7 separate regions of the Homo sapiens genome follow, and all the other regions are linked to region 1. Evidence: promoter capture Hi-C in human tissues and cell types (Jung and others, 2019). All regions are on one chromosome and are shown on one strand. The core of a region is centred on a gene start or on the middle of the fragment in contact, and the rest is flanking DNA. Distances in the headings are between cores, read along the strand shown. Region 1 holds the start of N4BP2 (NEDD4 binding protein 2). Region 2 overlaps RBM47 (RNA binding motif protein 47). Region 3 overlaps RBM47 (RNA binding motif protein 47). Region 4 holds the start of SMIM14 (small integral membrane protein 14). Region 5 has its middle 25 kb from the start of UBE2K. Region 6 has its middle 9.4 kb from the start of RBM47-AS1. Region 7 has its middle 29 kb from the start of RBM47-AS1.

The links. Contacts are between HindIII fragments. The study calls those that stand out against the background at their distance.
Region 2: a contact is called between a fragment that was not itself captured here and the fragment with the promoter of N4BP2 in region 1, in 1 of the 25 tissues and cell types used here (bladder).
Region 3: a contact is called between a fragment that was not itself captured here and the fragment with the promoter of N4BP2 in region 1, in 2 of the 25 tissues and cell types used here (mesenchymal stem cells and stomach).
Region 4: the fragment with the promoter of SMIM14 here is called in contact with the fragment with the promoter of N4BP2 in region 1 in 2 of the 25 tissues and cell types used here (H1 embryonic stem cells and aorta).
Region 5: a contact is called between a fragment that was not itself captured here and the fragment with the promoter of N4BP2 in region 1, in 1 of the 25 tissues and cell types used here (hippocampus).
Region 6: a fragment that was not itself captured here is called in contact with the fragment with the promoter of N4BP2 in region 1 in 1 of the 25 tissues and cell types used here (lymphoblastoid cells).
Region 7: a contact is called between a fragment that was not itself captured here and the fragment with the promoter of N4BP2 in region 1, in 1 of the 25 tissues and cell types used here (spleen).

What each region holds. Positions count from the first base shown.
Region 1 is chr4:40,055,600-40,059,996 of GRCh38, forward strand. It overlaps N4BP2 (NEDD4 binding protein 2), which reads left to right and starts at 1,251. Exons shown (of 18, transcript NM_018177.6): 1 at 1,251-1,431. It also overlaps the pseudogene LOC344967. RefSeq lists silencers at 463-672, 1,013-1,472, 1,523-1,872 and enhancers at 2,063-2,112, 2,213-2,312. The HindIII fragment of the contact is 26,276 bases long and covers 1-4,397 here.
Region 2 is chr4:40,517,509-40,521,905 of GRCh38, forward strand. The region is part of intron 2 of RBM47 (RNA binding motif protein 47); the gene reads right to left. Among named protein-coding and RNA genes, the nearest start is that of MIR4802, 18 kb to the left of the region's middle. The HindIII fragment of the contact is 4,481 bases long and covers 1-4,346 here.
Region 3 is chr4:40,478,642-40,483,038 of GRCh38, forward strand. The region is part of intron 2 of RBM47 (RNA binding motif protein 47); the gene reads right to left. Among named protein-coding and RNA genes, the nearest start is that of MIR4802, 21 kb to the right of the region's middle. RefSeq lists an enhancer at 4,351-4,397. The HindIII fragment of the contact is 5,969 bases long and covers 1-4,397 here.
Region 4 is chr4:39,636,578-39,640,974 of GRCh38, forward strand. SMIM14 (small integral membrane protein 14) reads right to left here and starts at 2,288. Exons shown (of 5, transcript NM_174921.3): 1 at 2,162-2,288. It overlaps SMIM14-DT (SMIM14 divergent transcript), which reads left to right and starts at 2,563. Exons shown (of 6, transcript NR_183845.1): 1 at 2,563-2,717. RefSeq lists an enhancer at 2,230-2,947. The HindIII fragment of the contact is 11,439 bases long and covers 1-4,397 here.
Region 5 is chr4:39,670,673-39,675,069 of GRCh38, forward strand. No RefSeq gene overlaps it. Among named protein-coding and RNA genes, the nearest start is that of UBE2K, 25 kb to the right of the region's middle. The HindIII fragment of the contact is 4,059 bases long and covers 115-4,173 here.
Region 6 is chr4:40,414,486-40,418,882 of GRCh38, forward strand. No RefSeq gene overlaps it. Among named protein-coding and RNA genes, the nearest start is that of RBM47-AS1, 9.4 kb to the right of the region's middle. RefSeq lists an enhancer at 4,100-4,244 and a cis regulatory region at 4,165-4,178. The HindIII fragment of the contact is 9,189 bases long and covers 1-4,397 here.
Region 7 is chr4:40,394,499-40,398,895 of GRCh38, forward strand. No RefSeq gene overlaps it. Among named protein-coding and RNA genes, the nearest start is that of RBM47-AS1, 29 kb to the right of the region's middle. The HindIII fragment of the contact is 3,608 bases long and covers 409-4,016 here.

The DNA of each region.
Region 1 (4,397 bases), core at 1-2,500:
CACTTTGTCATGAGGTTATTTCGCTTCTCTATTCTGGGAAAAACCACTGCAAGTGGAATGAAAAGTAACCGCAAAGGGAGGGGACGGAGGAAGTAAAAAACAGGCAAAACCACCACCACTACCATCACCACCACCACCACCAACCAGAAAGCAAAGGTGAAAAATTTGCGTACCCTGAAAACACTAAACATTTCACATCAGAACCCAGAACAAATAAACCAGGGAAAGCAGAGTTGAGAGAAAAAAAATGGTGCAGGCTTGGGGACGGACTCATACTACAGCGGTCGCAAGAGGGAAGAGCACGTCTTTGCTTTTTCTTGGCATCCGAAAACTCAAGCTCGAACTGGGGGCAAAGGCCAGCGGCTGCGGTTCCACCGGCTAAGGCGCACACATTCCCCGAGCTCAGACCGCACGCTGGCAGGGCCGATGGGGCTGGGCAGCCTCCCTCCACCCCGTGGCAGTCGCCTACCCCTTTGTCTCCCCGTGGGGCTCCGAGGCCGCGCGCCCGGAAGCCCCCCGCGGGAGGGCCGCGCGCGAGAAGGCGGGTTCCCGTGCCCGCCGCAGCGGCCACGGCCCTAGTCAGGCAATGCCGAGGCCGGTCGCTCGCCTCGCCGTCCCTCCCAACTTGCAGCCTGGACCCCGCGCGCGTCAGGGCTCGTCCCAGCTCTGCTTTCCTTTCTCCCCTCACCTCGCGAGGCCGACCTTGTGTTTGTTTTGTTTTTTGGGGCTCGGGAGAGTGCCGAGGGCTAGAAACAGCTGTGGTTTACCGCGCCGCTTATTTTGGCAAAAATTCCGGGCCTGTTGCAATGTTCCCCAGCGCCAAACAGCTCCCGCCTTCCCCCCAAGCAGAACCCGACACTCGAAGAAGGGCTTGCTCCTCCAGGGACCCCCTGATAAGAAAAGTGGGGACCACGGCCCGCTCTCGGGCGAGACTTGGGGGGTGGGCGACCGGAAGCAGCCGAACCGGCCGGGCAGGGCTTGCTCTCCAACGGGAGAGCGGGAGCGGGAGAGGTGGGAGCGCCCGCGGGCTCAAGTCCCCCGGGCCGCCGCGCCGAGGCGGAGCTCGGGGACGAAGCAGAGGTCGTGGCGGACAGCCGGCGGGCTTGGGGGGGGGCGGTGGGCGGCGATCCACCTGGGCGACGTGGCAGCCATTGCCGGCGCCTCGAGACCCCTCCCCACCCGGCCGCCCACCCGCCCTCTCGCGGCGGGCTTCTGCGCGGCTGCTCTTCCCCGGCCGGACGGAGAGCGGCAGTGTCTCCCCGCCGGGCGCGCTCGCCGTGTCTCCCCCGCGGCCGCAGCTGCTTGCTAGCCTTGCGCGGCGCGGGAGAGCGCAGTGGCGCCGGCGGGAAAGGGCTGCGGACCTGCGGCGCCGCGTTGTGCGTTCGACGACGCGGCACCGGCTTCGACGCCCTCTGCCCGCTCCAGAAGCAGGTAAAGGCGGCGGGTGGGAGGCAGGGAGGCGGGTCCAAGGTGAGGGCCCTGGAGGTTAGGGGTCCCGGGGCTCCGAGCCGAAGCGGAGGGCCTGAAGCAGCGGCGGGCGGCGCGGCGAATGAACCCCCAAGCCCTGAATGTGGGGCCCGGCGCGGGCCGCCTCCGATCTGACCCGCGGGCCCGGCTGCCCGGACGGAAGGGAAGTGAGGCGTCGGCGAGAGGCGGGCCCTGGCGCTCAGCCCGAGGCCGGGCGAAGGCGGGGGCCGCGGCCGCTTCCTTGGCCTCCGAGTGCCTGGCGGGCCTCCAGGCCCCAGACACACCCCTCTCGACCCCCCGAGGTTTCCTCCCAGATCTGTTCCCGCCGGGACCTGACCTTGCGCCCCTCCAGGCGCCTTAGGTGTTTGCCAGGCGGAGCCTTCTGGGAACTTCAGGCCACCTTCCTGAGCACATAGTCCTAGCAGAGCCGTTTATTTACTCAGTTCAAGTCCAGACACACAGCCACTCACACGTTCGGATTTTGGAGACTGCGGGGAGACTTTCCCCTCCCCGGCATTTGTGTGTCTTTGGCCCTCGTCCCGCCTCCCCTGCCCCCATCTGCAACTTTGTCCCTCAATGGGACCCTTCTAGAGCCCCTCTCTCATCGGGACTCTCTCTAAGCCGTCCGTTTGGAAATTCATCCTCAATAGAGTGAGTCATCTTAGCGGGGGCACAGTTTATCTCTCATGCGCTTTTGGTTAAAATAGTTTTTTTTTTCCCTCCGAAAGAGAGCTAGAGTAATAGAATGTAGATGACAGGTCAGTGTCAGTGTTGGCTTCAAAGGCTCTTCCTTTCGGCGGCAGTCTTTGTAACTAGGATCTGATATTTGTGGCACGGACAGGTTTGTACACATTCTCGCCATGCAGTGGTTGTAATGTCTCCATGGCACAGTTCTGGCTTGAAGGCAGGATTGGCTGCTTTTTCTACTCGACATCTTTGAGCCAATCAGCAAGGGCTGCTTGCCTGGAGACTGGTTAACTCAGTAAAGGTGGCCATTGGTTGAGCTCCTAGAAGAAAATCCTGGAGATGAACCTAGCCTCTCAGAAAACAATGACTGATTTGCAGCTGTATTAAAAAAATGTTTTCTTTTAATCCCAACATCAGCCTTTTCACTCCGTTTTTATTACTTCCAGTGTTTTTCTTTCAAACACCAGCTGTCTTTTGTAACTCGTTTTAACTCTCATCCTTTAATTTTAACTAAAAGACGCGCTTTAGGAAATGTAAACATCGTGTGTTCTGTGTTTTGATAAACGTGGTTCCATCTGCCTTTCTAACATTGTTTACTGCTAAAGGTCAGAAATAAACAGTTTTGAGTTTCGCTGCCAGGACCTTTTATTATTTAAGTGCCGTGCTAGGATGGGGGGTAGGAGCGAGGGGCTGTAGTGGTGGACATGGTGGGAAGAATAGGAAATAAATGGCTGCTCTTTTGCAAGGAGGCTACAATTTAGTTAATGAAAAAAGACTAACCTGTAAAACAATAAAGAATAAAGCAGTTGAAATCAGCACGCAGTACGTACGAATGCCAGTTTGTGTACTTGTTGACTTTAGTTAATTTGAAGGGGAGATAGAAGTACTGTATTTCATAGAAAAAGTGGGCTTAAGTTATGGTAGAGGCATGTTTTTTCCTTCATTAAAGTATATTAAAGTAGGCATAGTATCTTGTATGTACACAGTAGAAGCTAAATATTATCACTAGTTGCATGTTTTTTTTTTAGTATTTATTTTAAATCTAAATACTGTTACATAGTTGCATCTTATTTATTTATTTTTTTGAGACAAGGTCTGGCCGTATCGCCAAGGCTGGAGTGCAGTGGCACTATCTCAGCTCACTGCAACGTCTGCCTCCTGGGCTCAAGCCATCCTCCCACCTCGTCCCCTAGAGTAGCTGGGACTAGAGGCGAAAGCCACTACGCCCGGCTAATTTTTGTATTTTTTGTAGAGAGGAGGTTTCGCCATGTTGCCCAGGCTGGTCTCAAACCCCTGAGCTCAAGCAATCCAACTGCCTCCGCCTCCCAAAGTGCTGGGATTACAGGAGTGACCACCACGCCCGCCCGGCCGTTTTAAAACGCTGATTATTTTCCTTTTAAAATCTCCCTTTTCATCATGATTAGCCATGATTATGCATGTTTTTTGATATGCAAAGCAGCAACCATTTATTAGTTAATGAATTTCAGAAAAATAGCTATCTACCTTCTTTGCTTTCCTTTCAGCTTTTTATATGCAAAATCATATTGTAAGTCTTGGGAAGAATCAGTTGTCTATTAAATGCCTTTAGAAGTAGTTTATGTTAGGAATTTAAGAAGAGATTGAGCATTTTTTATGTATGTATGTATGTATGTATTTTGAGACAGAGCCTCACTCTGTCGCCCAGGCTGGAGTGCAGTGGCGCTATCTTGTCTCAGCCTCTGGAGTAGCTGGGATTACAGGTGCTCAACACCACACCTGGCTAACTTCTGTATTTTTAGTAGGGATGGGTTTTTGTCATGTTGGTGAGGCTGGTCTGTAACTCCTGGCCTCAAGTGATCCGCCCGCTTTGGCCTCCCAAAGTGCTAGGATTACAGACATGAGCCACCCCGCCTGGCCTTAGATTGAACACTTTTTTGATACCTACCTTGCCTGATAATGAGTAAGCATACATCAAGCCATGTATCATTATCAACCTCATTGCCCTCGTCCTCATAGTAATGAAGTGGCTTATGTGTATGTACACACACATGCACACCAGGTGCTGTTTTAAGCACTTTGCATATGTGATTGTATTTAATTCTTACAACTCTGAGATTTGCACTATTCTTACAGGGGAGGAGACAGAGACTGAGAAGTATTAAGAAAGTTGCTGAAAGTTACCCGACTAGTGTGTGGGAGTGTTATGTATGTATCAGGTAGGTTTCAGTCAAACTTAGATCTTTGTGACCCAAAACCTTATTCTT
Region 2 (4,397 bases), core at 856-3,355, 460 kb after region 1:
CAGAAATATACTTAAATTTTGATAAAAAAAAGTTTGAAGACACAAAATCTGAATCCAAAACAGTGTTTCAAAGGCATATATTCTACGTACAGTCAGCCCTCAGTGTCTGTGGGTTCCGCATCCCTGAAGTCAACCAACCACAGATCAAGAATATTCAAAAATCTCATGTACCCCATAAATATATATACTACTATGTGCCCACAAAAAATTAAAAATGTAAAAATGTGAAAAGGACGGCTGTGTCTGTACTAAACACATAGACTTCTTTTTCTTGTCATTATTCCCTAAACAATACAGCATAACAACTACTTACTAGCATTTCCATTGGATTAGGTATTCTAAGTCATCTAGAGATGACTCAAAGTATATGGGAAGATATGTGTAGGTCATATGCAAATACTGCACCATTTTATATAGAGGACTCGAGCATCCAAAATCTGGGGGGCCTGCAACCAATTCCCCATGGATACAGAAGGATCACTATATAAACAAATGCCAGAATTTGGGGTTTTAAGGTAGTTGCTTTGCTTTTATTTATTTATTTATTTTGTATTTCAATGAGGATGAGAAAATGGGATTATGAAGTCCAGATAGCCAATAAGATAGCCATCAAATCACACCACAAAACAAGCATTGTTTCTTTTCTTTTCTTTTTTTTTTTTTTTTTTTTTTTTTTTTGAGATGAAGTCTCACTCTGTCACCCATGTTGGAGTGCAGTGGTGCCATCATGGCATCATGGCTCACTGTAATCTCCACCTCCCGGGTTCAAGCAATTCTCCTGCCTCAGCCTCCTGAGTAGCTGGGACTACAGGCACACACCACCACACCCGGCTAATTTTGCTATTTTTTTAGAGATGGGGTTTCACCGTGTTGGTCAGGCTGGTCTCGAACTCCTGAGCTCAAGTGATCCACCTGCCTCGGCCTCCCAAAGTGCTGGGACTACAGGCGTGAGCAACCACGCCCAGCTGCAAACATTGCATCTCAAGTGCCTACAATAATCAAGTATTTGATATATGACACCTCATTTAATTAAACAGACAGATGAGAGGACAGACTCAGAGAGGCTGCCCAAGGATACACAGCTAATAATGACAGATCTGAGAACCTCAGCGGGTCCCAGTTGGAGCCCTTCTCTTTGCCTGAGTCACACTCTCATGCACATGCACACTGTAGCCTACACACCCTACTGCCCAATCAGGGGTGTCCAATCTTTTGGCTTCCCTGGGTCACACTGGAAGAAGAATTGTCTTGGGCCACACATAAAATACACTGATACTAATGATAGCTTATGAGCTTTAAAAAAAAAAAAATCCCAAAGGAAGCTTATGAATTTGTGTTGGGCCACATTCAAAGCCATCCTGGACATGCCACAGGTTGGACAAGCCTGGTCTAAATCAAGATCCAGCCCAGGAGTGGTGGCTCACACCGGTAGTCCCAGCACTCTGGGAGTCCCAGGCAGGAGGATCACTTGAGCCCAGAGTTTAAGACCAGCCTAGGCAACATAGTGAGACCCTTGTTTCTATAAAAAAAAAAATATAAAAAATGATCCAGGCATGGTGGCATGCGCCTGTGGTCCAAGCTACTTGGGAGGCTGAGGTGGGAGGATTGCTTGGGCCGGGACTCCTCACTGTAGTTGAGGCTACAGTGAGCCAAGATCACACCACTGTACTCTGCCCTGGGTAACAGAGTGAGATCTTGTCCTTAAAAAAAATAAAAAATAAAAATCACTTGCATGTATTTTCTGCCAACCTCTGACCAGAACCAGTTCAACTGTTTTTCTCCTTCAATCTTTTTTTTTTTTTTTTTGAGATGGAGTTTCACTCTTGTTGCCCAGGCTGGAGTGCAATGGAACGATCTTGGCTCACTGCAATCTCTGCCTCCCGGGTTCAAGCGAATCTCCTGCCTCAGCCTCCAGAGTAGCTGGGATTACAGGTGTGCACCACCACACCCGGCTAATTTTGTATTTTTAGTAGAGATGGGGTTTCTGCATGTTGGTCAGGCTGGTCTCGAACTCCCAACCTCAGGTGATCTGCCCACCTCGGCCTCCCAAAGTGCTGAGATTACAGGTGTGAGCCACCACACCCAGCATCCTTCAATCCTTTACCTTGGTCTCCTCACCCTCCTCTCCCACTTCCCTCTACCCTACCCTCCTTTTTTTTTTTTTTTTTTTTTTTTTTTGAGACGGAGTCTCGCTATTGTTGCCCAGGCTGGAGTATAGTGGCTCAATCTTGGCTCACTGCAACCTCCATCTCCCAGGTTCAAGCAATTCTCCTGCCTAAGCCTCCCGAGTAGATGGGACAACAGGCGCCCGCCACCATGCCCAGCTAATTTTTGTATTTTTAGTAGAGACGGGGTTTCACCATGTTGGCCAGGATGGTCTCGATCTCTTGACTTCATGATCCACCTGCCTTGGCCTCCCAAAGTGCTGGGATTACAGGCATAAGCCACCGTGCCCAGCCCACCCTACCCTCTTATCCCTAATTAAGATCATCTCTACTGCTCACTTTGAAATCTACTGATGAACTCTATTTCATATTGAAGCCCTCCTTTGACCATAAAATCCAACCAAAAAATATGGCTTCTCCCACTTTGGGTAAGCCTTTTATGTTCTTTTTTTTCTGTGATCACAAATTTGTCATTTGACTTTAAACCCTGTAGGTTGTATTAGAATTCCCCGTGTTCTATACGGCACTTGGCACATAAAAGTCTCATGCTGCTCAGAGACTAAATTATGTGTCCCTGAGAAAGGACTGTGCCTTCTGTGCAATAGAAATGTTTTATAATAGCATTTTCCACCTCCAGCCATGTGATTCTAAGTGGAGTTTTTTCTCTATTGGTTTTGGTATGCCAGCATGCAGGTATACCCCTAGAATTTTCAACTGCAGAGCTGCAATAGGGCAGAATAATGTGTCTCTGGGGAGTGCTGCTCTATCGCCCCAGGCCTATTCCAAAGCATCTTTCAGCTGTAGGGGCCCATGTCTAGCCTGAATATCTTTGAGGCTAGTATATATTTGGCCTGCAGAATAGTTTCAGCTTCTGAAAGGGGTTTTGAGCTCCCTTGGACACTAGGAAATAGTAGAGGAGAAAGGAGAGGTAGAGATTTAATCTGGAGCTTCTAAATCTTCCGGAATCTTCCAAAGGTTTAGGAATGCCCATGAATCATACTCAAACCCCTTTAGAGGACTTCAAAGAGTACCATGAATGTGACCTCAGAAACTGCTCATCACCTAGCCAACCTCAACAGATGTGTAAGAAAGGGCCCAGGGGCTCTTGGTGCTTTCCCAAACTGCCCAAGGAAGGAGGGGCTGCAATAGGAGAGGGGAGATCAGTCTACACTGTCCGGTGCTGCCTATCATGGGGACATCAACCGCTAGACCAGCAGTTCTCAAAGTGAGGTCCCTGGAATGCTGAGAGGCTCCACGGTTCTTAAAAATACTAACATATTTCCCTTTTACACGGCATTGACACGGACTAGTGATAAAAAGGCAATGGTGGCTAAAACTTCTAGCCGTGTGAGAGGCAGTGCCACCAAAGTATACTAGTAATTGTGGCATTTTTTTACCACCAGGCATTTGAAGTTGTTCTACCTTTTTTTAAAGCCAATTTTCCTTAAGAATGTATTTGGTAACACAGTATTAATTTTATTTTATTTTTTATTTCTTTTTAAAATGTTTTAAATTTTTTAATTTTAATTTTTTTGTTGCTGTTGTTTGAGACAGAGTCTGCTTGTTGCCCAGGCTGGAGTGCAGTGGCACAATCTAGGCTCACTGAAACCTCCACTTCCTGGGTTCAAGTGATTCTCCTGCCTCAGCCTCCCAAGTAGCTGGGATTACAGGCACCTGCCATAACATCCAGCTAATTTTTGTATTTTTAGTAGAGATGGGGTTTCACCATGTTGGCCAGGCTGGTCTTGAACTCCTGACCTCAGGTGATCCACCTGCCTCAGACTCCCAAAGTGCTGGGATTACAGGCATGAGCCACCACATCCAGCCTATTTATTTTATTAAGTCTCAATTCAAGTAGATGTTTTAAAAATATTCTGTGCGATGAAACAGAAAGTATGATAAAGCACTTCTACTGTATACCAAATTATGATTGCTGTCTCAAGGAAAAATCACTTGAGAGTCACAGGCTACATTACTTGATAAAACAAACTATGATTATTTAGACTTGAATATTTGGCAGACCTTTTCTAGAAAATGAATGAAGTGACCCTGGCACTTCAAAGAACACAACAGACAGTATTGATTTCCAATGATCAAATTCAAGCTTTCAAGCAAAAGTTAAATATGGGGGAACCTGGCTAACTCTGGGTGTACTGCCTATGAGTTAGCTCTGCTGTGCAAGGAGAAGAAAAATAATTTTAAAAAATACAAAAAAAGGAAGAAAAAATTTGG
Region 3 (4,397 bases), core at 713-3,212, 420 kb after region 1:
ATTATTATTAGTTATTACTTTCTTATTTTTAGAGACAGGTCTTGCTATGTTACCCAGGCTGGTCTCGAAATGCTAGGCTCAAGTGATCTGCCTGCCTTGGCCTCTCAAAATGCTGAGATTAGACATGAACCCCCATGCCCAGCCTACTTTTTAGTTTAATTATCTAAAAGCTAAGATATAGCCAATGCAAAGATTATGTGTGTATTTGCTTTTGTATATAGTAGTAGCATATCATTTTCCACAAGTATATTTGACACTATTTAGAATTTCAAGCCTTTGCTGAAACTGTTTATTGTATTAACACATGACTAAAGCATAAAAGAAATTGCACATATGTGTGCGCATAGACATTCAGATGGTAGCCTTCACCTGAAAAGGTGTCAAACACTGATAATGAAATCACATAACTGTATTGGTGGTATCAGCAATAATAGTTGGCTAAGAAGCTAATTAACCAGTATTGAAAAACAGATGAAGTATAAAGCAGTATCCACAAGCCTATATGATTAAAGCACCATAGTATTTTCTTTCGGTTAATTTGTCTATTATCCTATTATAGCATCAACAGTCACAGAGAAGGAAGAATTAAACAATGGACATTGTCATATCTGAAATGAGTGTTCCTTATCTGGACATTAGGAAGGATCTGTGGGCTGTCCTTTTAAAATTTAAAATGGTAGGCTGGATACAGTGGCTCATGCCTATAATCCCAGCACTTTGGGAGGCCAGGACAGGAGGATTGCTTGAGCCCAGGAGTTCAGGACCAGCCTGGGGAACATAGTGAGACCCCATCTCTACAAATAATAAAAAAATTAGCAGGGCATGGTGACATATGCCTGTGGTCCCAGCTACTCGGGAAAATTGCTTGTTTGAGCCTGGGAGGTTGAGGCTGCAGTGAGCCATGACTGCATCACTGCATTCCAGACTGGATGACAGAGTGAGATCCTGTCTCAAAAATAAATAAATAAATAAATAAATATATAAATATAAATAAAATGGTACCTTCTCAATTGGCATCCTTGGTTTATTTACTCATTTTTGTTTTGTGATAGAGTCTAGCTATGTTGCTCAGGCTGGTCTAGAACTCCTGGGCTCAAGCGATCCTCCTCCCTCAGCCTCCTAAGTAGCTGGGACTACAGCTGCACCATTGTGCCCAGAGGTACAACTGTTTTAAAGATTAAAATTATTCATCACATCCACCTGTAATAAAATAACTATAGCTAACTCCTACATACAGCCCTTGTCCTTCACCAGGCACTGTTCTAAGTGTTTCGCATATATTAACACAGGCAACCCCCATACATAGGTTGAGGCAGGTACTAGTATCATCTCCATTTTTTTTTTTTTTTTTTTGAGACGGAGTCTTATTCTTGTTGCCCAGGCTGGAATGCAATTCTGTGATCTCAGCTCACTGCGACCTCCACCTCTCAGGTTCAAGTGATTCTCCTGCCTCAGCCTCCTGAGTAGCTGGGATTACAGGTGTCCGCCACCATGCCTGACTAATTTTTGTATTTTCAGTAGAAACAGGGTTTCACTACGTTGGTCAGGCTGGTCTCGAACTCCTGACCTCAGGTGATCCATCTGCCTCGGCCTCCCAAAGTGTTAGGATTACAGCCGTGAGCCACGCGCTCAGCCTCATCTCCATTTTATAGATGAGAAAACAAGAAATAAAGTAATTGGTCCAAGACCAACAGCCAGCAAATAAGTAGTGGAGTGAGGATTCAAACCCAGGCATTCTGGCTCTTAGAGATCACACTTTACCGCCTCAAGCTAAGTAGATAATCTTCTTTCTTTCCTCCTAATTAGCTACCTCTCTACCTACCTACCCATGTTTCACCTTGCTGCTCTGTCAGCCTGCCAGGGACAGGAACTTCTGTACTAACCCAGAAAAACTTTGGAACTTTGAGATGGCATCTTTGGAGCTAAGTAGGAAACCCTTTAATGTTCAATGAATGAAACCATAAGTTAAGAAAGCCACAAAATCTAATTTGAATCTAAAGAGAATTCTCTTTGCATTTTCTCTCTAAGCCCTTCCTCTACCCGAGGCAGCACTCTTCATTAATTCTTAGAAACCTGCTAGATTTTATGGCGATCCCTTTCTGTCTGTCCCTCTAACACAGCAAAATGTAGCATCTGATAAGCTAAGTAATTATTAGTATTTACCTAATAGATTCTGTGGTAGTTTTAACAGACTTCTTAATCTTAAAAAGAGAAAGTTCAGAATACATATTGAATGCTGGTGGAGAGAAGACACCTATTACCAAGTCACATATCATGTGTAACATTATAGCCCTTTCTTCCACTTGTGCTAAGGAAAAGCCAGCTACATTGTCATAATATGAAAAGTAGATATATTTCCTCCTGAGCCAGGAGGAACAAGGCAGTCAGGTTAACAAGGGCTCAGGAAGTGTGTGGTTTTGCCAAGTATTTTGTGAGTTTTACTCTTTAATAATCAAATGATATTTTAATAATTTCCTCAAAATTGCCACAAAAATCCCCTAACATTCTGGATTTATCAAGTACTATGCTCTTCCATTTCAACTGGTGTTTAAGTAGCACTTTCTATAATATCCCGAGATGTACTCAAGCCCTGGGGAAGTGCAGTCAAAGACCTGGATCATATGTTGTTTCTTTCTTTTTTTTTTTTTTGAGATGGAGTCTCACTCTGTCACCCAGGCTGGAGTGCAGCGGCGTGACCTTGGCTCACTGTAACATCTGCCTCCCAGGTTCAAGCAATTCTCCTGCCTCAGCCTCCAGAGTAGCTGGGACTACAGGTGAATGTCACCATTCCCTGCTAATTTTTGTATTATTATTATTATTATTATTATTATTATTATTATTATTATTTTTATTTTTATTTTTGAGATGTACTCAAGCCCTGGGGAAGTGCAGTCAAAGACCTGGATCATGATGTGGCTTTTTTTTTTTTTGACGGAGTCTCGCTCTGTTGCCCAGGCTAGAGTGCAGTGGCATGATCTCAGCTCACTGCAACCTCTGCCTCCCAGGTTCAAGCAATTCTCCTGCTTCAGCCTCTAGAGTAACCGGGATTACAGGTGTGCGCCACCATGCCCAGCTAATTTTTATATTTTTGGTAGAGACAGGGTTTTGCCATGTTGGCCAGGCTGGTCTTAAACTCCTGACCTCAAGCGATCCGCCCGCCTTGGTCTTCCAAAGTGTTGGGATTACAGGCGTGAGCCTCCGCATCCAGCCTTTTTGTATTTTTAATAGAGATGGAGTTTCGCCATGTTGGCCACGCTGGTCTCGAACTCCTGACCTCAGGCGATCCACCGGCCTCAACCTCCCAAAGTACTTGTGATTACAGGCATGTGCCACTGCGCCCGGCCATGATGTGGTTTCTATTAAATTACAGGTGTGAGCCACCGTACCTGGCCATGATGTGATTTCTATTAACTGGGAGCTAATAATCCTCTTGGAGAGATCATTAAATGTCTGATAATTACAACATATAGAATACACAGAAATGGAACAGCATGTGCTATCCAGACAATGGGAGCCACCACAATCAGGTGAAGAGTATTGCTAAGACAGATCAGAGTCCATGGGGAAAGCTTCCTGGAGGAGGTATAACTAGCCTGCATTCCCTTTTTTATCTTATTTTTTTAATTTTTTGAGACAGGGTCTCACTGTGTCACCCAAGCTGGAGCACAGTGGCGCGATCTCAGCTCACTACAACCTCCGCCTCCCCGGTTCAAGCCATTTTCCCACCTCAGCCTCCCAAGTAGCTGGGACTACATGTTCATGCTACCACACCCGGCTAATTTTTGTATTTTTAGTAGAGGTGGGGTTTCACCATGTTGGCCAGGCTCGTCTTGAACTCCTGACCTCAGGTAATCCACCTGCCTCTGCTTTCCAAAGTGCCGGGATTACAGGTGTAAGCACCTGGCCTAGCCTGCATTCTTATTTACAATTGCATCAGGTTACAAACAGAGGCAATCACAAAATCCTACACTTCAAAATATGTATTCTCTGTATTTGTTTACTTTGTGATTTAAAAAGTAAAACACCTCTTTCCTGAAGAATGTTCCTTATTTCAAGAATTGAGTATTCCTAAAATTGGAATAAACCTTAGACATATTTTATAATCAGCCAAGAAACGGAAATTTTTCAGGAGCTTGATAAGCTAGCAAGTAACTAAATGAGTTATGTGGAGTCTAAAAATCTTTGAAAATTTTTCTTCTTAAGACCTTGTGGTTCAGTTCTTATTTAAGCCTAGTTACCTGTTCAACATATTATTTTACCACTTTGAAAAGGGAGCTCTTATTTTTTGAAAAATAAAAGTAGATATTCTAAAGAAATTTGAAAGCAATATGGAAATAATTGAAATCATTCGAAAAAAATCAAACACTAAAACTTTAGCTGCGATGGATCTATAAATA
Region 4 (4,397 bases), core at 1,038-3,537, 420 kb before region 1:
TCCCTGTAATCCTAGCATTTTGGGAGGCTGAGGCCAGAAGATCACTTGAGCTTAGGAGTTTGAGACCAGCCTGGACAACACAGTGAGATCTCGTCTCTATTAAATTTTAAAATTAAAAAATTATAAAACAACCCCCCCCCAGTGGATGCCTAAAGCCCATATAGTACAGAACCCTATATATGGACTGTTTTTTTCCTATACACACCTACGATAAAATTCAATTTATAAATTAGGCACAGTAAGAGACTGACAATAGTTAATAATAGAACAGTTATAACAATATACTATAATAAAAGTTATGTGAATGTGGTCTCTGAAAATATGATTGTATTTTCAAACTGCGGTTGACCACAGAAACTGAAACTCGGGAAACCCCTGAAAGTGAAACCACGGATAAGGGGGCACTACTGTGTAGTGAATACGCTCTAAAATTTAAGGTCCAAAGTCCATGTCTGAAAAATTTAAATTATTACTCAAAAAAGAAGTACTAGAATGTGAAAAAGCAGGTTATGTACTGAAAAGCATATGTGGTATGATACCATATTTGTATAAAATATATAAATGCAAAAAAGTAGTTTAGAAGGGTATAAACTAACATTTTGGTGATCTTTGGGTGGCAGGATTATTGATTTTTTTTTCCTATCTGCTTTTATCAACATCTTCTCTATTACACAAAGTATTTCGTATAACCAAAAATATTAGTTATAGGCTAGCATAAAAGGTAAAAAGCTGAAAAAGAACTTCAAGAAATCTTTCCTTCTTCTAAATCAGAAGGATTCCAACTACAGTAGTAAGAAAAAATATCTCAACGGCAAACACTGGAGAAAAGATTCGTTAAGGGGTTCATGTTATACCACAAGGACATACCCTTCAAGGAAATAATCTAAACTCATAACTCTTCCTGGGTTTGATAAGGAGCAATTAACTATCACGTACTGTTGTTCTTTCTTGCTGTTAACCACTGAAACACCTCAATTAATGAGTTCTCGGGGGTGAAGCGGTGTTCTTAAACACCACGTTGGAAAAAAAAAAAAAGTTAGGACAAAAAGGTTTGGTTTTCTGGTCGCAGTGCTGTCGACGGCCGCGGAGAGCGGCAAGTTCGGAGCAGGCTACACTAAAGGAATCTGCGCGGCCAGCCACCCTAAGTGGAAGGGAATGCAAAGCCTCCTGCAACCTCCACAGCGCTGGGCAGCAAGAATGCCTCCTAAGCGTCCCAACACTCCAACACCTGGAAGGTCTTACGCTTTCCAAGTTATAATATGTACAGCTGCTGTTTCTGACAATAACACACACAAACTGGAAGGTCTCTTCTGCAAATGTAGCTATTACGTGTGTGAAGCTCATCCGACTCTCTCGATGCAAAAGTAACACATTCTATTAAGGCCACAGCCTCGGTTTTGCCAACTGGGGCAACTGAAAACATCCTACCGACTCTCTACAGCTAGCAAACCATCTCGGCTAAAATCCTGGCACATATAAACAGCCACTTTGGTGAAGTCTGCCTTTAAACAGCAACACGGGACTTCGGGTAGAGCCGGTAACCAGTTTATCACACACTATTAGTTCCAATAAAGGGTGCTGCTACCTCTTTACTGTCAGCCTTGGTTCCACTTACTGAGCAAACAGAAAAAGGGGATCCTTTAAATTCGCGACACAATAGGAGCTAAAAAGCTCTCGCTTTCAGGGTGTCAGCTTTCTCGTCTCACTTATCACAACAAAGGACGCATCCTAGTGACTTCACCGTACCCAGAAAGGGCTGAGGGAGACGGTAAACAAGATAGTGTGGATTTCAGGATTTGTGAGTTTTTCCTTCCAGCTACGACTCTCTTTTTACTCCATGATACGCCTCCACCCGTCGACAATCTGATCCTAAAAATAAAACCACCCGTGGCTACCTTGCCCTTGCCTGCAAAGCCCCGACTCTGACATCCTGCAGAGAATACCCAATTGCAGGCTCTTCGCGGGGGACGCGGGCTCGGCAGCAGCGGAGCTTCTCCCGGTGCAGAATCGCCAGCCCGGCCGAGGAAACGCCAAGCCCGAGAAACAGCCCTGTTCTGCCGCAGCCGCCGCAGTCCCCGAGAGCCTGAGGAGCCCCCAGGAAAAACTGGGGCGAGGGGAGGGTGAGCCAGCAAACGCTGGTGGGAGAGGGGGAGACACTCACCCGCCCAGACAACAACCGATGGGGCGGGGAGGATGGGGGCCGGGACCGAGGCTCGGCAGAAAGACCGCCTGGAGCTTCCAGAAGGCTGCGGCTGCTCCGGACGCTGCTGCCACTGCCGTTTCTGGCCGCCGGCTTCCTCCCCCTCCTCTGTTTTGATTCGAGTGACCACGTCACTCTTAGCCACAAGACCCGGATCTGCCGGCTCCCGCGGGCGGCGGCGCAACAGATTGCAGCGCCTGGAGACTCCAGCTGCCCCGCCTGCCGAGCATGCGCATGCCCAGCGCCTGCCCTGTGCGTCCCGGGAAGCCGGGCGGGAGCCTGCGGCTTCGGACGCCTACGACACGCTGTGCGTGGGGGCGCGGAGTGCGGGGGATGTAGTTCCGGTTGGGAGGGGCGTGGCTGAGGACTGTGAAGCAATCGGGGCGAGGCCGGGTGTCTGTTCAACTCTCCCGCGTATCGTCTGTTTCTTCGGCGGCGGACAGTGTTCTGTAATGTGTCTCCCGTTGCCCGAGCTAAAGGTTTTCCTCGACGGAGTCTTTAGAATACCGTGGTAGAGGTAGACGCGGTTACAAATTGATGTCTGTTGAGACAGTCTACCCCTGTAAAGTGTTTTTGGTTACTCAGGCCCGGATGGAAATTGGAGATGGGGATTACAAAAATACATCAAATGTGGCTGTTATTGATTCCCTTTACCTTAACATTTTTGCACCGGAAACGACCAAAATTAAGTTCAACAGGAATATTAATAAAAGGAATATGTAGTCGGGCTTGGTGACTCATGCCTGTAATCCCAGCACTTCAGGAGGCAGAGGTGGGCGGATCACTTGAGGTCAGGAGTCCGAGACCAGCCTGGCCGACATGGTGAAACCCCATCTCCACTAAAAACACAAAAATTAGCCGGGCATGGTGGTGCCCGCTTGTAGTCCCAGCTACTCGGGAGGCTGAGGTGGAAGAATCGCTTGAACCCGGGAGGCGGAGGTTGCAGTGAGCCGAGATCGCGCCACTGCACTCCAGCCTGGGTGATAGTGAGACTTTGTCTCAAACTAAATAATTAAAGATATGTGACCAAAGATGACTTGCTGGTCAGGAGATAATGGGGAAGTAGGAGGGAATGCTGTGGCTAGGCAGCCAGCCAGCCCAAGTCTTAGTTGCTTTGGTTGTAGAGCTGGAATAAGAGTGCTGCTTTTACCCAATCTTCCTTTTAGAGCAAGTTGGTGCTTCCTATTCTCCCATTCTAGTCTCTGAGTCTCCCCGCTAAATTTTGGGGGCCCTGGAAATTTCCCAATTTGGCAAAATGCAGAACTATATTGTTTTCTTAGGTCCTTCAGTTGGCAAGCTTTAATTAAAATGGGACAAGTGGCGAAGTAAAAGTGAATCCCAAACAAAGATTTTACGAAAGTGCCTCTCTGCCAGTCTTGACGGAGAGGTGAAAGCTGCAAGCTTTCTTACTCAGATTTGATGACCTTTTCACTTACCCAGACTTCCACCTCAGCAATTTGGTTAATTACCCCTCGACAAGCTGAATCACCTTCCCCAAATAAGTATCATTTACAAGAGCTTTTTAATTAAAGTGGATATTGAACACAGGTAAAGGTTTCTAGAAAATTAAAGGTTTCTGGTAAAACTTGAAGTGTTTCCCAGTTAACTAATTGCAAAGTAGATACAAAGAATAAAGATTTTGGCCCTTAATCTGCAACCTTGAACTCTGCTTACTCAAATTCAGAGTTTGAGATGGAATCTGGTGCCCTAATGAGCTGACACTGTACCAAAGGGTCTTTAATTTGTGCAACTCCAAACAAAATCTGTTATGCTTGAGTGCACCCATGGGCACGTATGTGTTTGAGAACACAGCTGTGTTTAAGAGAACAGTATGGTACAAAACTAGAATTGTACTGGTTGTTGCAAAATTCTCAGTACTTGGTTTTGTTGTTGTTGTTTTTGTTGTTGTTGTTTTTGTTTGTTTTTGAGATGGAGTCTTGCTCTGTTGCCCAGGCTGGAGTGCAGTGGCTCGATCTCGGCTCACTGCAAGCTCCGCCTCCTGGGTTCACGCCATTCTCCTACCTCAGCCTCCCGAGTAGCTGGGACTACAGGCACCCGCCGCCACCACGCCTGGCTAATTTTTTGTATTTTTAGTAGAGACGGGGTTTCACCATGTTAGCCAGGATGGTCTCAAGCTCCTGACCTCGTGATCCGCCCGTCTCGGCCTCCCAAAGTGCTGGGATTACAGGCGTGAGCC
Region 5 (4,397 bases), core at 894-3,393, 380 kb before region 1:
ATATACCCAGTAATGGGATTGCTGGGTCAAATGGTATTTCTGTTTCTAGATCCTTGAAGAGTCACCACACTGTCTTCCACAATGGTTGAACTAATTTACACTCCCACCAACAGTGTAAAAGTGTTCCTATTTCTCCACATCCTCTCCAGCAACTATTGTTATCCTGACTTTTTAATGATTGCCATTCTTTTTTTTTTTTTTTTTTTTTGAGACGGAGTCTCCCTCTGTTGCCCAGGCTGGAGTGCCATGGCACGATTTTGGCTCACTGCAAGCTCTGCCTTCCGGGTTCATGCCATTCTCCCGCCTCAGCCTCCCGAGTAGCTGGGACTACAGGAGCCTGCCACCACGCCCAGCTAAATTTTGGTATTTTTAGTAGACACGGGGTTTCACCATATTAGCCAGGATGGTCTTGATCTCCTGACCTTGTGATCTGCCCGCCTCAGCCTCCCAAAGTGCTGGGATTACAGGCATGAGCCACCATGCCCAGCCCTAATGATTGCCATTCTAACTGGTATTTCCTTGTGGTTTTGATTTGCATTTCTCTAATGACCAGTGATGATGAGCTTTTTTTCATCTGTTTGTTGGCCACATAAATGTCTTCTTTGGAGAAGTGTCTGTTCATATCTTTCGCCCACTTTTTGATGGGGTTGTTTGTTTTTTTTCTTATAAATTTGTTTAAGTTCTTTGTAGATTCTGGATATTAGTCCTTTGTCAAATGGATAGATTGCAAAAATTTTCTCCCATTCTGTAGGTTGCCTGTTCACTCTGATGATAGTTTCGTTTGCTCTGCAGAAGCTCTTTAGTTTAATTAGATCCCATTTGTCAATTTTGGCTTGTGTTGCCATTGCTTTGGTGTTTTAGTCATGAAGTCTTTGCCCATGCCTATGTCCTGAATGGTATTGCCTAGGTTTTCTTCTAGGGTTTTTATGGTTTTAGGTCTTATGTTTAAGTCTTTAATCCATCTTGAGTTAATTTTTGTATAAGGTATAAGGAAGGGGTCCAGTTTCAGTTTTCTGCATATGGCTAGCCAGTTTTCCCAACACCATTTATTAAATAGGGAATCCTTTCCCCGTTGCTTGTTTTTGTCAGATTTGTCAAAGATCAGATGGTTGTAGATGTGTGGCATTATTTCTGAGGCCTCTGTTTTGTTCCATTGGTCTATATATCTGTTTTGGTACCAGTACCATGCTGTTTTGGTTACTGTAGCCTTGTAGTAAGTTTGAAGTCAGGTAGCGTGATGCCTCCAGCTTTGTTCTTTTACTTAGGATTATCTTGGCTGTACAGGATCTTTTTTGGTTCCATATGAAATTTAAAGTAGTTTTTTCTAATTCTGTGAAGAAAGTCTATGGTAGCTTGATGCAGATAGTATTGAATCTATAAATTGAGCAGTATGGCCATTTTCACGATATTGATTCTTCCTATCTATGAACATTGACTGTTTTTCCATTTGTTTGTGTCCTCTCTTATTTCCTTGAGCAGTGGTTTGTAGTTCTCCTTGAAGAGGTCCTTCACATCCCTTGTAAGTTGGATTCCTAAGTATTTTATTCTCTTTTTGGCAATTGTGAATGGGAGTTCACTCATGATTTAGCTCTCTATTATTGGTATATAGGAATGCTTGTGATTTTTGCACATTGATTTTGTATCCTGAGACTTTGCTGAAGTTGCTTATCAGCTTAAGGAGATTTTGGGCTGAAACAGTGGGGTTTTCTAAACATACAATCATGTCATCTGCAAACAGGGACAATTTGACTTCCTGTCTTCCTATTTGAATACCCTTTCTTTCTCTCTCTTGCCTGATTGCCCTGGCCAGAACTTCCAATACTATGTTGAATAGTAGTGGTGAGAGAGGGCATCCTTGTCTTGTGCCAGTTATCAAAGGGAATGCTTCCAGCTTTTGCTCATTCCATATGATATTGGCCGTGGGTTTGTCATAAATAGCTCTTATTATTTTGAGATACATTCCATCAATACCTAGTTTATTGAGGGTTTTTAGCATGAAGGGTTGTCGAATTTTTATCAAAGGCCTTTTCTGCATCTATTGAGATAATCCTGTGGTTGTTGTCATTGCTTCTGTTTATGTGATGGATTACTTTTATTGATTTGTGTATGGTGAACCAGACTTGTATCCCAGGGATGAAACCGACTTGATCATGGTGGATAAGCTTTTTGATGTGCTGCTGGATTTGGTTTGCCAGTATTTTATTGAGGATTTTCACATCAATGTTCTTCAGAGATATTGGCCTGAAATTTTCTTTTTTTGTTGTGTCTTTGTCAGGTTTTGGTATCAGGATGATGCTGGCCTCATAAGATGAGTTAGGGAAGAGTCCCTGTTTATCTATTGTTTGGAATAGTTTCACAAGGAACAGTACCAGCTTCTCTTTGTACCTCTGGTAGAATTTGGCTGTGAATCCATCTGGTCCTGGACTTTTTTTGGTTGGTAGGATACTTATTACTGCCTCAATTTCAGAACTTGTTTTTGCAGTGGCTGGTACCGGTTTTTCCTTTCCATATTTAGTGCTTCCTTCAGGAGCTCTTGTAAGGCAGGCCTGCTGGTGACAAAACCTCTCAGCATTTGCCTGTCTGTAATGGATTTTATTTCTCCTTTGCTTATGAGGCTTAGTTTGGCTGGATGTTAAATTCTGGGTTGAAAATAACTTTCTTTAAGAATGTTGAATATTGGCCCCTACTCTCTTCTGGCTTGTAGGGTTTCTGCAGAGAGATCTGCTGTTAGTCTGATGGGCTTCCCTTTGTGGGTAGCCTGAACTTTCTGGCTGCCCTCAACATTTTTTCCTTCATTTCAACCTTGGTGAATCTGATGATTATGTGTCTTGGGGTTGCTTTTCTCAAGGAGTATCTTTGTGGCGTTCTCTGTATTTCCTGAATTTGAATGTTGGCCTGTTTTGCTAGGTTGGGGAAGTTCTCCTGGATGATATCCTGAAGAGTCTTTTCCAACTTGGTTCCATTCTCCCTGTCACTTTCAGGTACACCAATCAAACGTAGGTGTGGTCTTTTCACATAGTCCCCTATTTCTTAGAGGTTTTGTTCATTCCTTTTCATTCTTTTTTCTCTGATCTTGTCTTCACACTTTATTTCATTAAGTTGATCTTCAGTCTCTGATTATCCTTTCTTCCACTTAATCAGTTCAGCTATTGATACTCATGTATGCTTCACGAAGTTCTCGTGCTGTGTTTTTCAGCTCCATCAGGTCATTTATGTTCTTCTCTAAACTGGTTATTCTAGTTAGCAATTCCTCTAACCTTTTTCCAAGGTTCTTAGCTTCCTTGCATTGGGTTAGAACATGCTCCTTTAGCTCAGAGGAGTTTGTTATTACCCACCTTCTGAAGCCTACTTCTGTCAATTAGTCAAACTCATTCCCTGTCCAGTTTTATACCCTTGCTGGTGAGGACTTGTGATCCTTTGGAGGAGAAGGGGCGTTCTGGTTTTTGGAATTTTTAGCCTTTTTGCACTGGTGTTTCCTCGTCTTCGTGAATTTATCTACATTTGGTCTTTGATGTTGGTGACCTTTGATGGGGTTTCTGTGTGGACAACATCCTTTTAGTTGATGTTGATGCTATTCCTTTCTGTTTGTTAGTTTTCCTTCTAACAGTCAGGCCCTTCTGCTGTAGGCCTGCTGGAGTTTGCTGGAAGTCCACTCCAGACCCTGTTTGCCTGGGTGTCACCAGTGGAGGCTGCAGAACAGCAAAGATTGCTGCCTGTTCCTTCCTCTGGAAGCTTCATCCCAGAGGGGCACCCGCCAGATGATGCCTAGCTAATTTTTTTCAAGTTTTTGGAGAGATGGACTCTCCCTATATTGCCCAGGCTGGTCTTGAACTCCTGGCCTCAAGGGGTCCTTCTGCCTGAGCTTCTCAAATTGTTGGGATTACAGATATGAGCCACTGGACCTGGCCAGGACTAAATTATTTCTGAAAAAAACTTCTGGCCATGAAATTATATTTCAATTATTTAATTCAAAGCCACTAGTTATTTTAAGCAATTTAGCTTAGCAGATTAACTGATTGCCATTTTAGATAATGGATACATTAGTGGTTGTAAATGGTATAAATCCAATTCAAATTATTGCAGGCAAAACAGGATTCTATAGGCTCTTAGAATTCAAGAAATGGTTAAGCAGTGAAACAGTGGGAAGGACAGAGATTCAGCTGAGCCTTGGGAACCCTGATATTCACACTAAGATAGTAAGGTTTAAAAGTAAGATTTGACGGCCAGGCGCGGTGGCTCACGCCTGTAATCCCAGCACTTTGGGAGGCGGAGGCGGGCGGATCATGAGGTCAGGAGATCGAGACCATCCTGGATAACATGGTGAAACCCCGTCTCTACTAAAAATACAAAAAAATAGTCGGGCGTGGTGGCGGGCGCCTGTAGTCCCAGCTACTCGG
Region 6 (4,397 bases), core at 1,030-3,529, 360 kb after region 1:
CCTCCAGTCTAGTCTCATGCTCTGGCCAGAACACTCTCTCTAAAGTGCAATTCTGATCAAGCCACTCTTCTGTTGAAAATCAATTATTTGCTGGGCACAGTGGCTCATACCTGTAATCTCAGCACTTTGGGAGGCAGAGGCAAACTCCGGACCTGAGGTCAGGAGTTTGAGACCAGCCTGGCCAACATGGTGAAACCTAGTCTCTACTAAAAATACAAAAATTAGCCAGGCATGGTGGCATGCACCTCTAATACCAGCTACTTGGGAGGCTGAGGCAGGAGAATAGCTTGAACCCAGGAGGCGGAGGTTGCAGTGAGGGAAGATCATGCCACTGCACTCCAGCCTGGGTGACAGGAGAGAAATGTTGTCTTAAAAAAAAAAAAATCAATCATTGACTCCTCACTGTGGTCAGGATAGAATGTTACACTGAGTTGCCAACTGGGCACAGCGTGCACCAGCTCCCTCCCCACACACCGTCCAGCAACTCTCTTCAGCCTCATATCACTAGCCTCACCTCCCATTCTAGGCTTTGCTTATTTTATGTTCTTTACAGATCCATTGCTCCCTTTATCAAGATTCCTTCTGCCCTGTCTGAGCCTTCAGAACTCAACTGAGATGTCCCCGATCCAGGAGCAGCTCCCTGAACCCCAAGTCTGGGGTTAAGTATCGCTTCTCTGTGCTACCCAAGCATCAGGATTTATCTCTGTCCTAACACTTCTCCCACTAGTTTATCACGATCTTTTAACTTGTCTGTGTTCTCACTAGACCAGTACCTTCTTGAGGACAGGACTTTTAGTTCTCTATCTTCAATGCCTAGCCCAAGTGTATATATAGTAGGTGCTCAATAAATACTTGATGAATAAGTGGGAGTTTGTTGGGTGGACACTCCTAGAGGGAAGGGAGCTTTTTTTTTTTTTTTTTCGAGATGGAGTCTCACTCTGTCGCCCAGGCTGGAGTGCAGTGGCCAGATCTCAGCTTACTGCAAGTTCTGCCTCCCAGGTTCATGCCATTCTCCTGCCTCAGCTTCCAGAGTAGTTGGGACTGTAGGTGCCCGCCACCACGCCTGGCTAATTTTTTGTATTTTTAGTAGAGACGGGGTTTCACAGTGTTAGCCAGGATGGTCTCGATCTCCTGACCTCATGATCTGCCCGCCTTGGCCTCCCAAAGTGCTGGGATTATAGGCGTGAGCCACCGCGCTCGGCCGGGAAGGGAGCTTTTTAAAGGAACTGCAAATATTAATATTTCGGAATAATGGGAGAGAATGGTAAGCAGGTGAAAGACAAAATCAAAGTTTTCAGTAACCAGGACAGGCACTGGTCAGTCAGAGGAACATGGGCAGTAAGTGACCAAAATGGACATACCAGTGCATAGTGGATATCCGTTCTGCCCATATGCAACTGGCAGGATATAATTCTGAAGACGTGCACAGAGGCCAGTTTATAAAGGGCCTTGTGTGTTTTAAGCTGGACTTGGTACAGTCAGCAGTGGGATACTTCTAAAGATATGTGACATAAGTGACACTCAGATTTGGTTTTAGGAAGATCACTGTGGCCCCAGTGTGGAAGGCAAATGAAAGAGAAGCAAGAGGCCGGGCGCAGTGGCTCGCGCCTGTAATCCCAGCACTTTGGGAGGCTGAGGTGGGTAGATCACGAGGTCAGGAGTCCGAGACCAGCCTGGCCAACACAGTGAAACTCTGTCTCTACTAAAAATGCAAAAAATTAGCCGGCCGTGGTGGCGCAGGCTTATAGTCCCAGCTGCTTGTGAGGCTGAGGCAGGAGAATTGCTGGAACCCGGGAGGCAGATGTTGCAGTGAGCGGAGAGTGTACTGCACTCCAGCCTGGGAGACAAAGCAAGACTGTCTCAAAAAAAAAAAAAAAAAATTGAATTTTGAGTATCATTGTATCTTGAGCAAGTAACTTATCCTTTTTAGGCCTCAATTTCTCCCTTGATAAAATGGAGATCATGTTCACCATTTTGTCTTTAGGCCCCATCACAAAGCCTGGCACATAAATGCTCGAAAAACAAAACATTTGTTAAATGAATGGGAAGGGGAGAATGTCATCTGTAACTATCTTACAGGATTGTCATGAAGATCAGGGAGATAGAGTTTTAGAAAGGCTTCTGTGGCCAGTGAAATGCTATTCAAGGATTAGCTGATTATCCTTGACTGGCATGTCTTTCCAGCATTTTATATCGTATATCTTTTATTTGAGACACTAGTTGTTAAAATTATTCATTGAACTGTCCAGAGGGTCTAATTATTTGGCCCCTCGGCAACTCAGAAGGCTTGGGCTAGCCTCCCTAGATTGGGCTGCTTTTGTGGTACAGTGTCCTGGAGCTGGTGGAGAACCTCCTGACTCTTGAAGTTATTCTCTTTATTTGACTGGCTATGGCCTTAACTTCCAAAGTTAGGGCTTTCTTCCTTAGCTTCGTTGACAAGGGATTTGTTCAATGAAAACCACATAACTCAGGAGGCCAGGCACAGTGTCTCATGCCTGTAATCCCAGCACTTTGGTAGGATGAGATGGGAGGATCGCTTGAGCACAGGAATTCGAGACCATCTTGAGCAACATGGCGAAACCCCATCTCTACAAAAAATACAAAAAATTAGCTGGATGTGGTGGCACATGCCTGTAGTGCCAGCTACTCAGGAGGCTGAGGTGGAAAGATCACCTGAGCCTGGGAAATCGAGGCTGCAGTGAGCAGGGATTGCGCCACTGCACTCCAGCCCGGGTGACAGAGCAAGACCCTGTCTCAAAACAAACAAACAAAAGACAAAAAGCCCCACATAACTCACCTCCTTGGGAATGAATTTGTTTATTTCTTCCCTTTCTGAGAGCAACATTTGATAAAAGACATGCTAGAATGTAAGAGGCTTGGAGGCCACCAGGAAAAAAAAATGTAGAAAGGTGACCCTATAAGACCTTCAGACTCCAGAAAGTTTTGCATCTATATTCTGCAATGTGTGTAATTTTTAAACTTTCCTTTCCACTTGCTCCAATGTCCTTTAAGATAAAGTGACTCTATTAGGAGATCGGTGTGACTTCTAGAACAAACAAATGACTCTACATCCTTACAAAATGGGTGATCTATAATCCCTCCAACCCCAGCCCCAGCTCTAGAGTTAGATATTCCAGGTTCAGATCTACACTGTTTCACTTACCAGCGACGTGGTCTCGGGAGAAGTTATGAAACCTCCTTCTGCCTCCTTGCTTTTTATCTGTAAAATGGGGGTATTAAGAGTAGCAAGCTCAAGTGTGAAAACATGATGCATGCAAAACTAATCTATGCTGTAGATTTGACTGTTTCCCTTGTTGAGGTGGTCACTGGAAAGGGCCATGCAAAACCTTCTGGAATGCTGGTCATGTTACTCCTCTGGATGTTGGTTACATGGATGTGCTCAGTTTGTGAAAATTCATCAAGCTCTCTATGGTATGTACACTACTGTATCTATGTTACTCTTTTAATAAAAAGTTTAAAAAATATCCACGTAAAGTACTTGACCATTGGCATATATGGTAAGTTACTGTCAGCCATTATTCTTATCTCCTGCTGAATGATCATCATCTAAGACTTTAACATTATTCCCAAACACAAGGAAAATGAGGAACCAAAAAAAGACATGCTCGCCGAAGGCAGGCTTGACTGAGCACTCAGTGGCACGGCTGTTTGCACTAAAGCGTTGGGTAATTTCTAAGTAGATTATTTTGGCTGTTGTCTCTTATGCACAAGAGATTCCCTCTATAAATGCTAGAGCACATTTAGAATCAGTTGCATTTCCAGAATTTCTCTCCTTAGGGGAGTGTCTTATTTGGAAAGGGGACATTAGGGGTTTATTGGGAAGCTGAGTCTGCATAGTACTCTATATAAGATTGAGAAAGGGTCAAATGGCCAAATTTGAATGGGGGTGGAGGTGTGAGGGTGGTGAGGTCGACGGAAGTAAAACTATCTCATGGTGCTGTCAGTTTGGAATAAAGGTCGTGAAAAAGGAGCGGAAAAATCCCAGCAAAACCAAACTGGCATGGCCCAGTGTTATCACAATACCATTAAGTGCAAATGTTTTGACCCAGCACACCCCCAGCAAGGTCATCTCAGAAAAAACTGGGCTTCAGTGACATCTCTTAGCTGCCTTAGAATGACTAAGGTTATTTAAACCTCATGGTTGGTTAATCATTAATGAAGATTTTTGACAAACAAAGTAGAACGAGCCAAGAAAGAAGGGTGGCTAAAAATTAGCCTAGGAAAGGTCATATTTCTTGCATATGCAGGGATTAGTGTTGCTTTTGTTTCTGGTAACTGTGCAGAATGGAGTTTCAAGGAAATATGATCCTGTTGGGGAAGCCAATGTGTCTCTGAAGATTTTACTTAGGATTCTCCTCCACTGTATTAGTCCATTC
Region 7 (4,397 bases), core at 963-3,462, 340 kb after region 1:
CAATCAGGAAACAGCTCTCAAACTCCCTCTCTCTTTCAATCAGTACTTCATTGTTTTTGGAACTATGGAAGCCTCAGTGCCAATTTTATAATCCACGCCAGACTTTTAGCCTCTAATGTCTCTTTTTAAAGGGAACCAAAGCCCCTTTTCTCCTCGATATTTCAAAGCCCAAGCGAATCCATCTGCTTCCAAGCACTCTGCCACTTGGCTACCTGTGTGATCCTGGTTAAGTTCCTAAACCTCTGACCTGAAACAGGGGTCTGTCCCTAATGGAGAGCAGCAGCAGCAGGACTATGGCCTGTCCTGCCAAATCTCTCTCCCGGCATCATAGGAGGCAAGTAAGACAGGTGGTTTTTCTCTTCTTTCTTTTTTTTTTTTCTGAGTTTCACTCATATTGCCCAGGCTGGAGTGCAATGGCACGATCCCGGCTCACTGCAACCTCCACCTCCCAGATTGAAGCGATTCTCCTGCCTCAGCCTCCCGAGTAGCTGGGATTACAGGCGTGAGCCACCATGCCCGGCTAATTTTTGTATTTTTAGTGGAGACGGGGGTTTCACCATGTTGGCCAGGCTGGTCTCGAACTCCTGACCTCAGGTGATCTGCCCGCCTCAGCCTCCCAGTGTGCTGGGACTATAGGCATGAGCCACCGTGCCTGGTCGACAGGTGGTTTTTCAAATGTGTTTCCCAGCATATGCTCTGTTGGGAATTTTAAAGAAAAATCTTCCATGGTGTGGATTCTTACATCTTCTGCCTTAGTAAGATTCACAATCAAGGTGAGTACTGGCCTCTAAAACTCCTCAGCTTTTCCTGTTACAGGTGAGGAATGGTGCTGGTATCAGCCAGAAATCTGTTGGATGCTGGCCAGCAATGGCAGAGGGGTATTTACTGAAAGGTTGATCACAGAGTAAGTAAGAAGGCATGAGAGGCAGGCTCAGAAGCTAGTAGACACAATGCAGCCAGGATGCTGCCACCATGGCCAACTGTGGCCACCATCCTTGGACACTGATCTTAATGCTTGACCACTTCAGCTGCCACCATGGATTCAATATCACTATGTCTATGACTTTGCATGGTGCAAAGTCCTGGGTGGTGGTCTCCTGAGACCTGTGTGATCTCTTTGGCAGCCATGGACAAGAAGGGCAAGAATTTCTGCCTTTTAGCTTCTGTGCTATGCATGCGCTGGCTAACAAGCAGAAGATGAGGCATCATTACACTGGGTTCCCGAACTTCTGGTTAACTCTTGAGATCCTGGTGCCAGAAGAATACTGTCACTCACAGTGGGAGATTCCTCAAAATTAAGAAGGGGGATTTAGATCCTAGGTAGCAAGGAAAAAAAAATCCCATGATTGTGCCAGAAACTTGGATTGTGCTTACAATCCCCGTGAGTTTTTCCAGTCGAGCCCTCTTGCTTTGCCCTCTCCAGTGTCTCTCCTGTGGGGGTAGGGCCTGTCCAAGTCCCGTCATGCTTCAGTACCTAAGCAGGTGCATTCGCTCCCTTCCTGTGCCTGGAGTCCTGCCATCCATTGCTCAACTCCAATCTCTTGTTGTTTTAACATTTGGCCTTCATCCCCAGGGCTTCTCCTGGCTGCAGTTCTTGGAGTCAAGTTTCCTTTCATGAAGCTGCAGTTTGCCAGCTAAGCCAATCACAGATCTTGGGACTTGGATAGAAATGACCCTCTCCCCACCCCCATTTTCTTGACTCTTCCCTCTAAGGGTCTTCTCTGAAATCCCTAGATATGAAAAGAGTGATACATTGAGGCTAACAGGCCCAGATTTGTTAACTGTGGATGTGGGCAAGTAATCTGACCTTAGGAGCCTCGGATTCCTCCCCTGGGAAGAGAAAGGAAATCTTTTGACTACAAAGATTTCTTGAGCTGCTGAAGCACAGTGATCATGATTCTAACCAGAGTGTCTTTTTTCTAAAACTCTACTTCTTGGGTTCTGGACTTCTCTGGCTCTCCTGCTTCTGATTCTGGTCTGCAGTATTTCTATCCTCTGTCCATTTTGACATATTAGTTAGAAAGCCACAATAAAAATGGAAATTTTCTATTTTTCGCTCTACCCAGAGTCCTCCCACTCGTTATGCATGCATTGCCCTGAATCACTCAGCTTTAGGAGTCTGACTTCTCTGGGGTCACAGGAGCACTGTAGAGGGGCCGGGCTTTCAGCATTTGATCTTACCATACTGTATGGGGGTCAAATGTCCTTGTCATTTGCGCAGTAAAACTCAGATGATCCTGGTTACATTATATTCCTTTTTGACAATATGGACTGCAACTTTAGAATCATATCTTTGCTCCTTGGTTTTACTCTGAAGGAGGAAAAAAGCCATACAAAGCAATCTTTATTTTATTTTATTTATTTATTTATTTATTTATTTTTTGAGACGGAGTCTTGCTCCATTGCCAAGGCTGGAGTGCAGTGGCACGATCTCGGCTCACCGCGACCTCCGCCTCCTGGGTTCAAGCGATTCTCCTGCCTCAGCGTCCTGAGTAGCTGGGACTACAGGCGCCCACCACCACGCTTGGCTAATTTTTTGTATTTTTAGTAGAGATGGGGTTTCACCGTGTTAGCCAGATGGTCTCGATCTCCGGACCTCGTGATCCGCCCGCCTCGGGCTCCCAAAGTGCCTAGCTATTTTTTTGTATTTTTAGTAGAGACGGGGTTTTACCATGTTGGCCAGGCTGGTCTCAAACTCCTGACCTCAAGTGATCCGCCCTTCTCGGCCTCCCAAAGTGCTGGAATTATAGGCATGAGACCCCACGCCCGGCCTGATCTTTTGTTTATTTTATATACCAGAGGATCTTCTTGCAGGCTTTCCCACTCTGCCTTCCCTGTACTATTTCTTTTCTTTCCTTTTCTTTTCTCTTCTTTTTTTTTTTTTTTTTTTTGATATGGCATCTTACTCTGTCATCCAGGTTGGAGTGCAGTGGCACCATCTTGGCTACTGCAACCTCTGCCTTCCAGGCTCAAGTGATCTCCTACCTCGGTCTCCTGAGTAGCTGGGACTACAGGCGCAGGCCACTATGCCTGGATTTTTTTTTTTTTTTTTTTTTTTGTACTTTTGGTAGAGATGAAGTTTCACTGTGTTGCCCAGGCTGATCTTGAACTCCTAAGCTCAGGTGATTCACCTTCCTCGGCCTCCCAAAGTGCTGGGATTATGGGTGTGAGCCACTGCCTGGCAAACCTATACTATTTTTTTGGGGTTTTATTTTTTAAGTATGAATTTTAGAGTTATCCAATTTTTTTTTCTTTTTTTTGAGACAAGGTCTCACTTTGTTGCCCAGGTCAGAGTACAGTGGCACAATCATGGCTCACTGCAGCTTCGACTTCCTGGGCTCAAGCGATCCTTCCACATCAGCCTCCCGAGTCCCTGGGACTACAGGCACACACATCCACATCTGGGCTAATTTTTGTATTTTTGGTAGAGAGGGCATCTCGCCACGTTGCCCAGGCTGGACTCGAACTCCTGGGCTCAAGTGATCCTCCGCCTTCCAAAATGCTGGGATTACAGGTGTGAGCCATGGTGCCAGGCCTCTTTTGGGTTTTCCTTAAAAATGATGGCAGTCATAAAAACAGCTACCATTTACTCACAACTTGCTATATATCAGGCCATATGTTGGATGCTGGATCTATGTTATCTCATGTAACCCTCACAATAAACATAAGAGGTAGGTACCAAAACTGAGGCCTATAGAAACCAAGTGATCTTTTTCTCAGGAACCCTGTCTGGCAGGTCCTCTGATGGGCTTGGTTCACTCTTCCTAAAGGCCCCTCAGCTTCTGCAGCTTCCTCATTTCCAGGGGTAGAGGAATCTCTGCTGCCTTTTGAATTTCCTTCTTCCTATAAAGCTCCAAGTTTCCCAAAGTTAACCAAGCTTCAGTAGCCTTGCTGAGAAGAATTGCACAGACACCCTGTAGAGCCAAAGACTTCTTGCCCCCATAATGTTCTGGTTCTCACAGAAGCCACAAAGCTAGGAATGGTCCTGAAGGAACACAGGTTCATGAGCCCCTTTGACCATATGCATATGCTGGACTCCACAAAGAATGGCTGTAATAGCATCTCTGGGCCTTCTTGGGGTTAGGAGAACAGGACGGTGACCTAGAAGAGATTTGTAGGTCTCTGACTTCATCGCTTCACCTTTGGCACAATTAAGCTTTCTTTTTTCTTCTTCTTCTTCTTTTTTTTTTTTTTTGAAATGGAGTCCCGCACTGTCACCCAGGCTGGTGCAGTGGCACGATCTCGGCTCACTACAACCTCCACCTCCCAGGTTCAAGCGATTCTCCTTGCCTCAGCCTCCTAAATGGCTGGGATTTCAGGCGCCCACCACCACACCTGGCTTATTTTTTTGTATTTTTAGCAGAGATGGGGTTTCACTCTGTTGGCCAGGCTGGTCT